5 separate regions of the Homo sapiens genome follow, and regions 1, 2, 4 and 5 are each linked to region 3. The links are contacts of gene promoters, found by promoter capture Hi-C in human tissues and cell types (Jung and others, 2019). All regions are on one chromosome and are shown on one strand. Each heading gives the region's core, a stretch centred on a gene start or on the middle of the fragment in contact. The rest is flanking DNA. Distances are from core to core; before and after follow the strand shown. Region 1 has its middle 16 kb from the start of LINC02276. Region 2 has its middle 54 kb from the start of LINC02432. Region 3 holds the start of INPP4B (inositol polyphosphate-4-phosphatase type II B). Region 4 overlaps RNF150 (ring finger protein 150). Region 5 has its middle 130 kb from the start of IL15.

Region 1 (2,700 bases), core at 188-2,687, 1.3 Mb after region 3:
TGCAGTGGGAACAGCAGTTCAAATACCCAGAAGCTAAACAGAACACAACAGGTTTTGGGAACTGCCACTGCTGCATTTCATGCAGTGTGTTGCATATACTGTAGGGCATAGATTCAGAAGGAATTTTAGACCCAGATGCCTTTGGAGGCTCAACCATTGTAAGATGGCCAAATCACACATATATGTGTGTCTGTGTGTGTGTACACATATATAATACGTATATTTTATATATATATTTAAGAAGGCATGCTCTGCTAGAAACTATTTTGAAATACTTAAATAGCTAAAAATGATCACAATATTAAGACATATCTGTGAGCCAAATTTAACCACAGCCCATGAATTTTGCAGTACCTGGTCTAGCTAATAAACATTGTGAAACACTGTGTCAGAATCTTGCCGTTGAACCATATGACAATGGACTTCTCTGACCTTAGTGTTCTCACCTGGAGCCACTTTTTAAGTTATAACTCTTAAAAAGGATGAAATTATAAAAATATTAAAAATATAAACTGAAGATGCATTATGTCATTGAGGATACAGGGAGCAACCAAAAACAATAATCATGACGATCAAAACTCGTGAAACATTTACTTTGTTTTCCATAACATTTTGATGGCATTTATTTTATTTTATCTGATATCATACTATTTTCATGCTGCCGTCTCTCCTACCAGAATTTAAGACTTGTAGGGCAAAATCTTTGATGTTTTTCATCCAGAAATGTCCCACAGCATTTCACTAATGTTGCACAAATCGTAGGTAATTACAAATAATGGTCAAGGTTAATATTAGATTTTAAAAAGAGAAAAATTTAATTTTTGAAGACAAAACTGCATGCCTCAATAAATAATCTTAGGAAAACTGAATTTCAGAAAATCATCTTTAAACAAACAAAGCTAAACTATAATAAATAAGAGTAATAAACAAGAAAAGAAATGATAAACAAGAAAGAGCAAAAACTGATTTGTTTTCCTCATGGTCAAATACACTGAAATTGCAAGAAACAATTTTCCTTTAATATAAAAGATGTTGACATTTTCTGCTCCCTGGTTAGGATATACAACATGTTCTCTAAATTATATTATCTTTTGCCATTGATATAGTCCAATTTCAATGTATAAATACAATGGAAATATAGTACTAAGGCACACCTGTTTTCTGGGTACTTTTAGTTGAGCTTTCTCTGTGCTCCCACATTGCTTTGTTTTTACCATTATTATAGGATTAGTTGTGTGTAATTGTGGTTAGCTCTTTATATATTTTTTCTCTGCTATGAGATTAGGAACTCCACTTGGGCAGAAATATTATCTTATTGATTTTTATAACTAAGACTGTGCACAGCACTTGGCATATAGTAGTGTAACTCATAGTAATACAAATATGTGCGAAATTTCCATATCAGATTCGATTTTTGATTGTGTTGCTCTGGGGCTTCCAACCTATTACAGGAGCAATAACGGTCATTGTTTCTGGGAGAAAGGCAGACAGTAGCTAGAACAATAAAATCATGTCTCAGCTTTGACTGGTAGATAAGATTCTTGTGTCCCAAATAAGACAATAATCTTTAAAGACATTTTGGTCAGACCACAGGAGACGTTTTAAATTCTGCCAATTCTTAATACATGCCACACTCAAATTCAGCATTTAACTATCAGGCAAAGGTAGAAGATTACAGTCTCAGCCAACATCTAACTGCAACCAAATGAGACTGAGTGAGAACTCTGCTCAGTTCTTCCCATAATCCCTATCCATAAAGCCTGAGAAAAGCAAAACACTTGGGTTTTTTTCACACCAATAATTTGGGTAACTTGTTATGCCTCAAAAGGAACTATAATTAATTATAATTATATACATATAATTAGGATTATAATCTTAGGAAAATTGGGAATATATAATGGGAATTAACTAGTTAATCTTTTATTTAGGAGCTCTTCAAACATGTTTGTTAGTGAAATAATAGTATCATTTTCTGTTCTTGATTTGTTCTCATCTTAAAGTATTGCCTAGTATTTTCTTTCTATTTGAAAACTCCAGTTGGTTTTAATATAGTACTTATGCATGAATACTTCTGCATTAGTTTTTATTGCTATGCAGAAGTTTGCCATAAATTTAGCAGCTTAAAACAACATGAATTTATTATCTCACCATTTCAGTAGGTTAGGAGTTCTGCTTAGATGCCTGAGTCCTCCATTTAGTGGCTCAGGTGGCTAGAGATAAGATGTTGGCTTGGCTTAGTTCTTGTCTGGAAGTTCCAGGGAAAATCCAGTTCCAAACTCATTTTGGTTGTGGGAAGAATGTAGTTCCTGGTGATTACAGGACTGAGATCTCCTTTTTCTTGCTGGCTGTTGACCAGGGGGCCATTCCTAGCTCCTAGAGGCTGTTTGCCACTCCCTGCACCATGTGACCCTCTCTACAACTTGTTGGTGGCTTCTTCCATGCCAGCAGGAGTATGTCTCTATTTCAAAGTTCTGACTCCCCTTTTCTCTGTCCTCTGTACTCAGATTTAAGGGGCTCTTGTGATTAGACTAAGCCAGTTGGATAACATTCCTTTCTTAAAGTCAAGTATACCACCTGACATAACTCATCATAGCAGTAAAATATTTATACTCTGGGAAATTATGGCAGGTGTGTATGTAAGGGGCCCGAGATCTTGGGGCCATCTTAAAATTACCTACTTTAAGACTATTATGTTCTCAA
Region 2 (2,700 bases), core at 62-2,561, 1.5 Mb after region 3:
CCAGAACTTAAAAGGAATTAAAAATATAAATTCTTAAATCATTTTTCATTGAGGCCTTCAATTAATTGTCTGTTTAATGAAGGCCAAATTTGTGTTAGGCACAAGGATGAATATGAGTGGCCCATGCCCTAAAAGGAATTCACAATCTAAGGAAATATGTATGTATAATTATCTCATAAGTATACATTATACAGTGACTTACTCCATCACTAAACCCATATTCTCATAAGAAAGTTTGCTTCAATACAGAAAAGACATCAAAGTTTATGGTTAATTGCTTATTAGTTACAAACTTCTATAACCCTCAAGTGAAAGCAAAATATTTGTTTGTCTTATATAACAAACTACAAACATCAATCTGAACATTATGAGCATTGGTTCATGATTCATTTGGTCTAGGTCTTTCATGAAATAATAAGATTAAAAGATGTTTATAAAGAATTTTAACCACCAAATATAAAACAGCAGATACAATGTCTTTCTTGGAACATTGGGAAAGAACCAGTGCCAAATCAGAGACCTGTTACTACTCATATCCTTTACAGAAGATGTAGTGCAGGAATTATGCATGCGTAGGGTCTATCATTTTTCCAGATCAACTTGGAACTATGAGGCAGTGGCAGTGACCACTGAGGAATTGTTAAGAGGCTAGATACAAAAACGATGACCTCAAATAACAAAGCTAATAAACAACAGCAAGGAAGACAGATAGTTGGGAGGGATTAAAAAATGGGTTTTGTTAAACTGTGTTTATTCAAAATGCCAGAACTGGAGGCAAATTCTACTAATTGCACTAAGACCAGAATGAAGTAATCCCGGATATCTTAATCTAAGGCTGAGCGCATTAGCTCACACCTGTAATTCCAGCATTTTGAGAGGCAGAGGCAGGCAGATCATTTGAGCCTAGGAGTTCCAGATCCAGCCTGGGCAACATGGTGAAACCTCGAAAAAAAAAGAAAGAGAGAGAAAGAAATTCCATGAGAATTTTAACTAATTTCAGAATAGTTAAAATTTTAACTAATTTTAGATATTAGCATAAAGTTTCCCATCCAGAGTCCAAAAATACACAGATGTCTGCCACCACTCTCTTTTCCAAAACGATCACAGATAAGAATAATTAATGGCAGGACTCCTTTGCACTGAATGCCTACTTAGTTTCCTGATTCACCTCCAAGAGTGAGTATCTGGGGAAGGGCGCGGTGGCTCACGCCTGTAATCCCAGCACTTTGGGGGGCCGAGGCGGGCGGATCACGAGGTCAGGAGATAGAGACCATCCTGGCTAACACGGTGAAACCCTGTCTCTACTAAAAATACAAAAAAAAAAAAAAAAAAATTAGCCGGGCGTGGTGGTGGGCACCCCATGCTGTCGTCCCATCTACTTGGGAGGCTGAGGCAAGAGAATGGTGTGAACTCGGGAGGCGGAGCTTGCAGTGAGCCGAGATCTCGTCACTGCACTCCAGCCCGGGCGACAGAGCGAGACTCCGTCTCAAAAAAAAAGAAAAAGAGTGAGTACCTGGGCAGCCACTGTCAACCAGTCGGAGCTAGCACTGAAGGCCACATTAGCACTTCATCCCTGATAAAGTCAGTGGTAGGTGTTGAAATGGAAAGATTTTATACAATTAGGGCTGAAGAAACTGAGGCCTAGGAAGCTTAGCCAAATTGCCCAGAATGGCAGTGTCTATACCTGAAAGACGTATGGTTTGCTAGTTGAGACCATGAACGTGAAACCACCTGCTACTTTCTCTTCTTGCCAAAATTTCACTTGCATTGCGTATACTTTGTATGACAGTAGCCATGTTATTAACCTGGTTGTCCCAGTTTTTAAAACGCATCCCTAAACAGAAGATTTGCAAAAGTTATAATATTAACAGAGCTGGCCTTAAAATTAGTTTAGATACTAAGAAGTTATGATTCAACAAATAACTTAAATCATTAAATTCCCAGAGATATTTTCCCCCAAGGCAGAAAGTACATCTAATGTTTCATGTCTATTCTTTTATACTTTTCTGTGCTTTTATATAATAAAAAGAATTAAAAGTGGCTTTAAAACTAACAGCTAAGAATTATATATCCAGAAGGAAAAGAAATATCAGGATAATAGAATAATATTTTTTATGAAATATAAGTGGCAGGCTGGGTGACATATTTTAAATTAGGCTTTCTGGAAAATCAATCTTTGGACACACAGATTTAAAAAACATTTGAAACAAATGACAAATGAGAGCAAGTAGATGGGTTGATGGCTGGAAGTGAAAAGCAGTCAAACACATGCCACGCAGTAGCTCAGAAGAAATTGTCAAAGAATAGATGAGAAAGACAAAAACTGGCATGCTAAAAACAGTTCTTAACCAGAGCAAAGGATACTGGCCGAAAAGGTGGAAACTTACGTATCAAGCCTAAGTAGTAGATGTTAAAGTAACATCCTTGGAAGCAGAGACAGAGTGGTAAAAATGGAAGCTGAGAAAGATGAAGATTTTGTTGAGAGAAAACACTTCCTAACACAATAACTTAAAAGATACAGGAAGCAGTTTTATAAATAATAATAATAATAAAGCAACTTAAAATTTTCAGTCATTATTTTTCTGTTTCCATCTTTAAAATATAGCTTAAGCAGGCCTTTTTAACTAAAAGTTAACCTAGCAGGAAACAGGTGTTTGCTAGGACCCTCGCAATAAAGTACTATAAACTGGATCAGTTAAA
Region 3 (2,700 bases), core at 162-2,661:
TGACAGCTGGGGGTACATACAGCTTCCTGGTTTGTGAAACTGTTAAGCCCCGACTTAACCCAAATTGATTTCACTGTCCTGACTTTGAGATTCCAGTCTTTTTGCATGGCAAATGTAACACTTGTGTACAAGCATTCGTACACTGCTTTACTTAAAATGTGATTTTAAAGCGCCCTCAGGGAGAAGGGCTGGGGTGTCTTGATGGGCTGGCTCTGGGCACCTTTACCTTTGAACGGCTCCATCAAAACCTTTCCGAGAGAGCCGCCAGGTGGCACCTGTAAAGCGCAGATGGGGAGAGTCATTTGCCCCACACCCTACACAGCCCGGAATAACCAGGGTGCGTGCTTTCCCCTGTGGGCTTGTTAGGGGCTAGGAAGTGGGGGAGTTTTAGTCTCCGTCCAGACTGCTTGCTTACATACCCCGTTTTCCTGATACCCCAACACATTCAGGGCGGATTTGTCCCCACGCACCCGGGATATCAAAGGCATGTCATACGCTAGTTGGGAGCATCTCGGCCTCAGTCACCCGCCGCGACGTGGGAACTGGCGGTGGGTGGCCGAGGGCTGCTCTAAGCTGGTCTCCTCAGCCCGACCTCTGCCCGGGGCAAGGGGGAGGAGGGGCAAGAGACAGGGGTCCCAGCGCGGCTGCAGACTGGGGTCCAGCAGGCGTGAATGGATGCCTAGACGCAGGCAGTGACAGCAGGGATCCCAAGCCCCTTCCAAAAACCCTCGGTCTAGGGACTGCGCTGCCATAGGCCGGGGTCTGGGGCGCTTTCTTCCTCCCGCGGGTTCTTTCTCTGTGGTTTCTCCTGCCCCCGCAGCAGCGTGGCGGCCTCGGGTCCCCCCTCGTCGCGGTAGCGGTGATCCCACAGCCCAGTCTGGGTGGGCGACCCAGCGGGCAGAGGGGCCGCAGAAAGGGGTCGGGGTACGGGGTGTGAGCACACGGAGCCAGCGTGGTAATTTCGGGGTGGGCAGCCGGGCCACCATCTCCGCTCTATCAGTAGCGGGAAGCGAGCAGCGCCAGTTGCGCGACTGTCGCTGCCACGGCCGCCTCTACTCGGTCGCTGGTGACATTGGGAGGAGACCGCTTGGAGAGAGCAGAGGAGGAGGAAGAGGAGCGGGGAGGGTGGGGGTTGGGGTGGAAGAAAGTAGCAATTGTGCCAGGGGGCGTGTGAGCAGCCGGAGAGCCAGCCGCGCTGGTGACAACTTCTCTGGGGCGCGCGCGGGGCTGGTAGGCGAGGAGCGAGCAGGGAGCGCGGCCGAAGCCAGAGGCTGGGGGAGCTGCTGGAGCCTCGCGAAGCCGCGGCCGGCGCCCTGCGCCGTCGCCGCCGCCTGCTAGTTTCCTCCGGGTTCTCAGCCCCGGGTACTGAGGCTTCGGTCTATAAATAGCAGGTTACAGCTCCTCCTGGGCGCGCACACGCTCACACGCTCGCAAGCGAACGCAGGAAAGTCAGGCTAAAAGTGTCTGCTGCTGCTGCCGCCCCCCACTCCGCCTCCGGGAGAGGTAATTACCCGCCTGGGATCCTAGGGCTCGGTGGGGGAATTTTGCAGGGTGGGGTGGTTGATGGTGGGTAATCCGGGAGGCGAGGGAGCGTGTCTGAGAGCGTGGCGGCACGTCTTGGAGGGGGGAGCCTGTCTGTTTTGCATCAAGTTTCTCCGTCTTGCAGCCTCCATCACCCCTCCAGCTCTTTAGCTTAAAGGGTGGGGTGGGCTGTCTCTCCTCGGCTGCTGGGGTACCCCTGTCACCGCGCCTACCCTCTCGCCGAGCGCCCCTCTGCCCGGCGCGCGCGCGTTTTCGCATTCTCACTCACACACGCACACTCTCCGGGCCCCCGTGGAACTCTGAGCTCTGGCCTCGCTGACCTTCCAAGGCTGCGCCCACCTGCGCTGTCCCTGAGAGACGCTGAGGTTGGCCCGGGCACTCGCTCTCACTTCCAATCCTGATGATCGCAAGCTGCCGCCGCCGCCGCCGCCGCCGCCGCCGGCCTGGGAAGAAGTCCTTAAGGAATAGAGGCAGTGGTGGGGAGTGAGGGTGACTGATGTTGGTGGTCCCGGTTGCCTTGTTTTTTGTTTTAAAAATAAAGAGCCCATCTCCTTGACCACCTTCATCCCACCCTCAACAACTCATTCTGGCAGAGAAGCCTGGCATGTCTTCTCTCGGCCATCAGGCAGCATCTCTTGTCCTTCCCCAAAGAGGTCTCGCTGAGAGGTTAGGGCCTTGGCGCAAGAGTGCCTGGGTTTGGACGGGGGAGGTCATTGTTTCGGGTCTGAGAACTATGCTGCAGGCTCCTCAAGCTCTCTGGCGCTCAGGCAGGGCCCAGGGCCGGGGAATGTCTGGGAGCCTGGTTCCTGAATGTAGTTTCAGGCTGGTAGCTGATATGAAGATGAGGATGCTAGAACCACATATACCTGTTTTTCCCCCTCCCCACGCTTCTGAATTCTCCCTTCCTTGGGGGCAGTAGTTTCTGCTCCTGGGGAGTCGGTGGAGAGGGGCCCAGCAGTTTCTCTTTGGGGACAAGAGGGTGAGGAAGCACATATTGATTAGGTTGTTGCTGCTGCTGCACAAAACTTACTGGAAAAACCCGGTAGGGTTTTCTATTACTCTTGTTTTAAGGATGTAAATTTACTCCTTTTCCTCTTTTATCTTCTCCCTAACCAGAACTAGTTTTCCTTTCTCTTTCTGGAATGTTATTTGAGGTCA
Region 4 (2,700 bases), core at 139-2,638, 1.8 Mb after region 3:
CAGGAATCACTATTTAATCCCTCAGTTATTATGTATGTTGCCTTTAGGCTTTTTTCCAAAGAAGAATAAGCCTTCAGGGAATTTGGCCAATAATATGTATAACTACTTTGGATTATTTTAGTCCCTTTTCTCTGAAGAGTTCAGAACAGCAGAGAAACTCAGAGCTCAAATTATTGCACTGCAGTGGTGCCTCTTGCCCATGTGTTGTGACTGTGCAATTAACGTAAATGGCCAAACTGAAGCAAGCTTTTGGGAAGCCGACTGCGTTTGCTTTCTTTGATACAAACACGTAATTATACTTTGACAGTGAAACAGTATTGAATGCAGAGTGACCATAAAGTTCTGAGAGCCCTAGGGCATAAGTGGAACAGTTTACGGTTTTGAAAATTAAACTGAATTCTCCACAGGGTATAAACAAAACAGCAAACCTTTTCTATTCCGTTGATATTGAATGAGGGTGTGTGCAGGCACTGTTGAAGGAATCAGAGTAAGTTGTTCTTTAAACATACATGAAAAGTGTCTATCTCTAAAGGAATAACTTAAAAATCTATCAGTTAATTCTCTAAGTAGGTACACACACGCGTACTTACATACACACATTAAAGAATAGTTCAATTATTATTTCTCTGTTCTAAAATATTGTGGACCTCACAGACCTCTATTTTGTCTTTGCCTATATTTTTATATTCCTTTAACCAGTATTCAGGGTTTTTCACCAATAATTTTTGGAAGATAAAAATGCAACTGTTTTAATAGGGAAATTTTGTAAATGTAAAGCTGCCAAACATGAAACACATGAAATCCCACCCATGCTGAGATTTGGTTTGCAGTGCTGTTTTCTTGCCCCTGTCCGATGGAAGCACTGGTCTTTAGGTTCTTCCATTTTGGAGAGTATGAGTTTCTTTTTGCCTCATTTATTTCCTGCTCTCTATCAGTAGCATAAGAAGCTCTCTTCTGTGTTTTCTTTGCTTAGAGTGAGTTGCTTGGCAGATGAAGTTAAGATGGAGCACTGAGAAGGCATGGGAAACAGAAAATTTACCTAGCTTAAAGTAACAGTTCAACTAACATCTAAAGGCCATTTATTTCAATGACTGATAGGGTTTTTTGTAAAATAAAATTGTCCCAATGCAGACATGTCCTTAGCCCTGGACTTCTTTTCAGAAATTTGAGCAGTACTGATATTATGGCAGTAATGGATGCTTGCATCTGACAGTGACTGTCCATCCATACTGGCCACTTATCCAAAAGTAACATTTTAGAAGTCGTGCTGCTCTGCAATGGTGACAACCGCATTGGACATGTGATCCGGTAAACAGGTCACTCCACCCAGAGCCGTACCTGCAGGTCTCGTTTGGCGATCAGACTTCTCACATTCGGCCCACCGGCTGTTCCTTCCTTGTGGTAGCCCCCTGCTTCTGGAATTCCTACTGATTTCCTGCCTCAGCCTCACTGTACCTTTGCCTCTACTGGTGCCTTCCCTGGGGGACATGTGCAGCTCCAGAATCCTAATATCTCCAATTACTGTCATTCTGTCTTGAGGACTGATTCTAAAGCTCCATAGAGCTAAGCTTAGATGGTGACAGCTGACACATTTTCCCCTTGCCCTTTCTCACACAAATCTAATTAATATCCTCATAGGCTTGTTTAGAGACAGAAAAGAACAAAAAACATGCAACTTCAGCTAAGCAGTTGATTTTTCACAGGAATGGACTTCTTCTAGGAGACGTTGTTGAAAGGGGATATATTTGAGAAAAATAAGGAATATGAAATGAAACTAATTAAGAAATTAGAAGACATGTTTTAAGCACTCACATCACTGTATCTTGACAATGACGAGAGAAAATTTAAACTGATTATAGCAGCCAGTATTAGATTGGGTGAGGAAGACACAGTGACTAGAATGCAGACAGGTGATTGCAAATTGGATGATGAACCAGAGGTTTTGTTTCGTATTTGTCATTGTAAAAAATACAAACAAAATAGTAATAGACTGGATGAGAAATTAGTGTAGGAAAAGGAGAATAGATGAATTTCAGAGATTACAAAAAGAAGAGGCAGTGGGATTTTGTGAATGATTATGGAGAGATTGATTTTGCAGCTGCAGGTAAATCTTCCTGTCACAGCTGACTACTCTGGCTTCCCTAGGAAGAGGTTTTCTTTCAAGAGCAAGTACTTTTTACTTTTTTGTTTGTTCAAATACTAAGTATGTCTTTTTTGAATTAGGATTTTTTTTTTCCACTTTTCAGTGTAATGCACACTGGCTCTTGGAGAATAGTGCCTGTCTTACAATTTTAAACAACGTTTATGGAGTCCTGACTATGCTTTCTGTGCTTTATTTCACATGGTCATCGTAGCAATGCTGTGAACTCCTTACTGCTTTTACTGCCATTTACTTATAAGAGAACTGAACCTCAGGAGGGTTAGCAATTTGCCCCAAGTCCCACAGACGTTCTGGCTCCAGGGCCTGGAGTTCGGCCTGCTACCACACAGTGTTAGGACATAAATGCCAGACATGAAATCTGTCTATAACAGTTCTGCTAGGAGGTGTTACTAGCCCCATTTTTCAGATGAGGAAACTTCATGAAGTAAATAAGTGGTAGGATTTAAAGTCAGGTCTGTCTGACCTCCCTCCAAATCATTCTTCCATTGCTGTCTGTAGTGCTCAGCCAGTGTTGGCTTAATAAAGCAACAGCAGCTGCT
Region 5 (2,700 bases), core at 155-2,654, 1.1 Mb after region 3:
GCAAAGATTCCCATATGTTTCCGTGTAAGACAGAATGACTCAGCCATTTTATATTTAATGCACCCTTGGATAGCTGCTTTAGATTTTATATGCCAGTACAAGAGCACAGAAATTGACTGTGACACCGTCTGTTGATGAAATAAAGAGAATGGCCCTGGAGACAAGAGAGCTTTATGTTCTGGTTGAAAAATGCAGAAAACACGAATTTGATCAATGCTGTTATTTGCCAATATCTCTAAAATGGACTCTTTGTTCCAGAATTAAGTTTAATCAAATAATAAAAGTGTTGAGATTGCCTTGATCAATATGGAGGTCATGTGCAAGGTGCTTATCCCCTAATACTCCTCAGGAACCAGTAGTATATTTACAAGAATTCGTGGTGGGCACTGAAAGAAAGAACTATGTGAGAGGACTTCCATTTATCTCAAGATGAGGTCTGCCGACATTACTTACTACCACATTCTTTTCTCTACAAACTACACCTTCAATACATGTAGAAGAACCTTGCTTGAGGTATATAGCTTGTAGGGATCTTCAAACATCAACCCAGAAAGTTGGAATAAGAAAAATATACTTACCTCTGTTTCAGTCAATAATTTTCTTTTTTTTTATTATTTTCTTTTTTTTTTTTTATTTTTGAGACGGAGTCTCACTCTGTCATCCAGGCTGGAATGCAGTGGCGCGATCTCTGCACACTCTCATGCTCCGCCTCCCGGGTTCACGCCATTCTCTTGCTTCAGCCTCCCGAGTAGCTGGGACTACAGGAGCCCGCCACCACACCCGGCTAATTTTTTTTTTTTTTTTTTGTATTTTTATTAGAGACGGGGTTTCACTGTGTTAGCCAGGATGGTCTCGATCTCCTGACCTCGTGATCCGCCCGCCTCAGCCTCCCAAAGTGCTGGGATTACAGGCGTGAGCCACCACGCCCGGCCCATTCAATAATTTTTTGTTCACTTTATCAGGAGTTTTACCACAATTCATCCAGTCAAAAGACTTGATCCTTGCCAAAAACCTAAATAACACTTTACATTCTTATCTTTAAAAATCCATGGTCACCAAGTCCCATAGATTCTACCCCCTTGGTATTTCTTAGTTCTGCCTCTTCCTGCACTAAGTTCTTAATTTATTCCCAATAGCTCTGCCTGCATTATAGCAATAGATTCATAATTAATCATCTGTACCCAGTGCCCCTCCCTCTTACCTATAAAACCATTGTCCAAAAGGTTGTCAATGTAAAAAATTGCACTGGACAAAGCAAAATACACTTTTTACTTTAATAAATTCTATTTACTGAAGGCTGTGTAAGACTAATCAGACTATCATTTATTCAAGACAATTGCAAGAGGGAAAAGAGACTAAACTCAAATCCACGGAAACAAAAGCCCAGAAAGTTTTTAGGAGCTGGAGTGGGGGGACTTGTATGTCATCTGTGTTTGCTAATTGGCCTAACCAAAAGAGAAAGTAAGCTTTCTCCTGTCTTCAGGACAGGTGGTAGTTTTACAACTTGGAGCAAGGAGCCACTGAAGTTAAGTTTCTACCTCACCATGGAGGCTGAGAGAAAGGGGTGCTATCTTTTTGGATGATTACACTTCAAAGAGATGACTCCAAGGTCCTTAAGGAATACATGCCCTGGGTTGTAAACCTGGCAGTAGGCTTTTTAAGGAGATTTACATTCATTCCAAAGTGGCAGAGAAAGAATTTGTCATTAATAGTTTTCTAAAGTAAATGCTATAAGAAAAGAAAGCTCGGGGGGGCCTATAGTCAGAAAGAAATCTATGAGAGTGAGCAGGAGTTGCATATTTTTCACATTATCTTCCTGCACCCATCATAGTGTTAGTTACTTTGAAAGTTCTCCTTTAATATTTTTCAACTAAATTAAAGGTGCAGTTGTTTGAAAAATATAAGGGCTTACAAATAGAATTCTTAAATTTCTCAATGGTAGTAAATCATCAACTTTTGAGGGTAAATTTTAAAAATAATGTAATTTGGAAGTATTTTTGAATAAAAATTCAACCAATATTTTAAACACCTGTAATAATTATTCTTTCATTTAAAGTTTAAAATTAGCTTGGAAGGTTTTATGCAAAAAGCATATCACTTAAGTAAAAGCCTAGTTCTAAGAACTTCCAAGTTCAATGCTCATTTATATAAAAGACATAGAATATGTTTGTTAACAAATTAGTCTCAATATTCTAGGGTGTTTGGAAAGCACCTCTGAGTAGGGTTATGTCTCTGTGAGTTCATAATAATTATATATTGACTAAATATTTTGGAATATTCTCATTGTTTAAGGCACCATAACAAAACAGGGTTTAAGTCCCGTGGCTTAACCAGTTTGACACATTTACAGTACTGTAAAATCATGCTCCGCTGTGATAATGAATCTGTTAGTCAGGCTTCTTGTAATGTTCAGACACTTTCCTGCTAAACAGCTGCTTTACTGCTTTACACCTGCTAGTGAATGAATTGCATTCACTGAGTTTGTTTAGTTCAATTTAAATTTAGGGATCATATCTGAAAACATGAATTATTTAAATCTCCCAAGTCTTTGGTGGAAAAAAGAGATTCTTTAAAAATTCTTTCAAAGATAACTGAAATCTGGCTACATTAAGTTAATGCCATGGAGGAGGAAACATGTCAGGTCATGACTATTTGATAAAAAATAAAACTAGAAAACTTTAAAACATATTTTTGTTGAAT

The links. The method cuts DNA at HindIII sites, captures the fragments that hold promoters and counts their contacts. A contact is called where the count stands out against the background at its distance.
Region 1: a fragment that was not itself captured here is called in contact with the fragment with the promoter of INPP4B in region 3 in 1 of the 25 tissues and cell types used here (lymphoblastoid cells).
Region 2: a fragment that was not itself captured here is called in contact with the fragment with the promoter of INPP4B in region 3 in 1 of the 25 tissues and cell types used here (dorsolateral prefrontal cortex).
Region 4: a contact is called between a fragment that was not itself captured here and the fragment with the promoter of INPP4B in region 3, in 1 of the 25 tissues and cell types used here (dorsolateral prefrontal cortex).
Region 5: a fragment that was not itself captured here is called in contact with the fragment with the promoter of INPP4B in region 3 in 1 of the 25 tissues and cell types used here (dorsolateral prefrontal cortex).

The regions. Positions count from the first base shown.
Region 1 is chr4:141,591,979-141,594,678 of GRCh38, reverse strand. No RefSeq gene overlaps it. Among named protein-coding and RNA genes, the nearest start is that of LINC02276, 16 kb to the right of the region's middle. The HindIII fragment of the contact is 8,627 bases long and covers 1-2,700 here.
Region 2 is chr4:141,385,346-141,388,045 of GRCh38, reverse strand. No RefSeq gene overlaps it. Among named protein-coding and RNA genes, the nearest start is that of LINC02432, 54 kb to the right of the region's middle. The HindIII fragment of the contact is 3,171 bases long and covers 1-2,700 here.
Region 3 is chr4:142,845,012-142,847,711 of GRCh38, reverse strand. It overlaps INPP4B (inositol polyphosphate-4-phosphatase type II B), which reads left to right and starts at 1,411. Exons shown (of 26, transcript NM_001101669.3): 1 at 1,411-1,503. All of the region lies in intron 3 of USP38-DT (USP38 divergent transcript), which reads left to right. RefSeq lists an enhancer at 68-654. The HindIII fragment of the contact is 7,687 bases long and covers 1-2,700 here.
Region 4 is chr4:141,079,591-141,082,290 of GRCh38, reverse strand. The region is part of intron 1 of RNF150 (ring finger protein 150); the gene reads left to right. Among named protein-coding and RNA genes, the nearest start is that of RNF150, 53 kb to the left of the region's middle. The HindIII fragment of the contact is 4,083 bases long and covers 1-2,700 here.
Region 5 is chr4:141,766,482-141,769,181 of GRCh38, reverse strand. No RefSeq gene overlaps it. Among named protein-coding and RNA genes, the nearest start is that of IL15, 130 kb to the right of the region's middle. The HindIII fragment of the contact is 3,555 bases long and covers 1-2,700 here.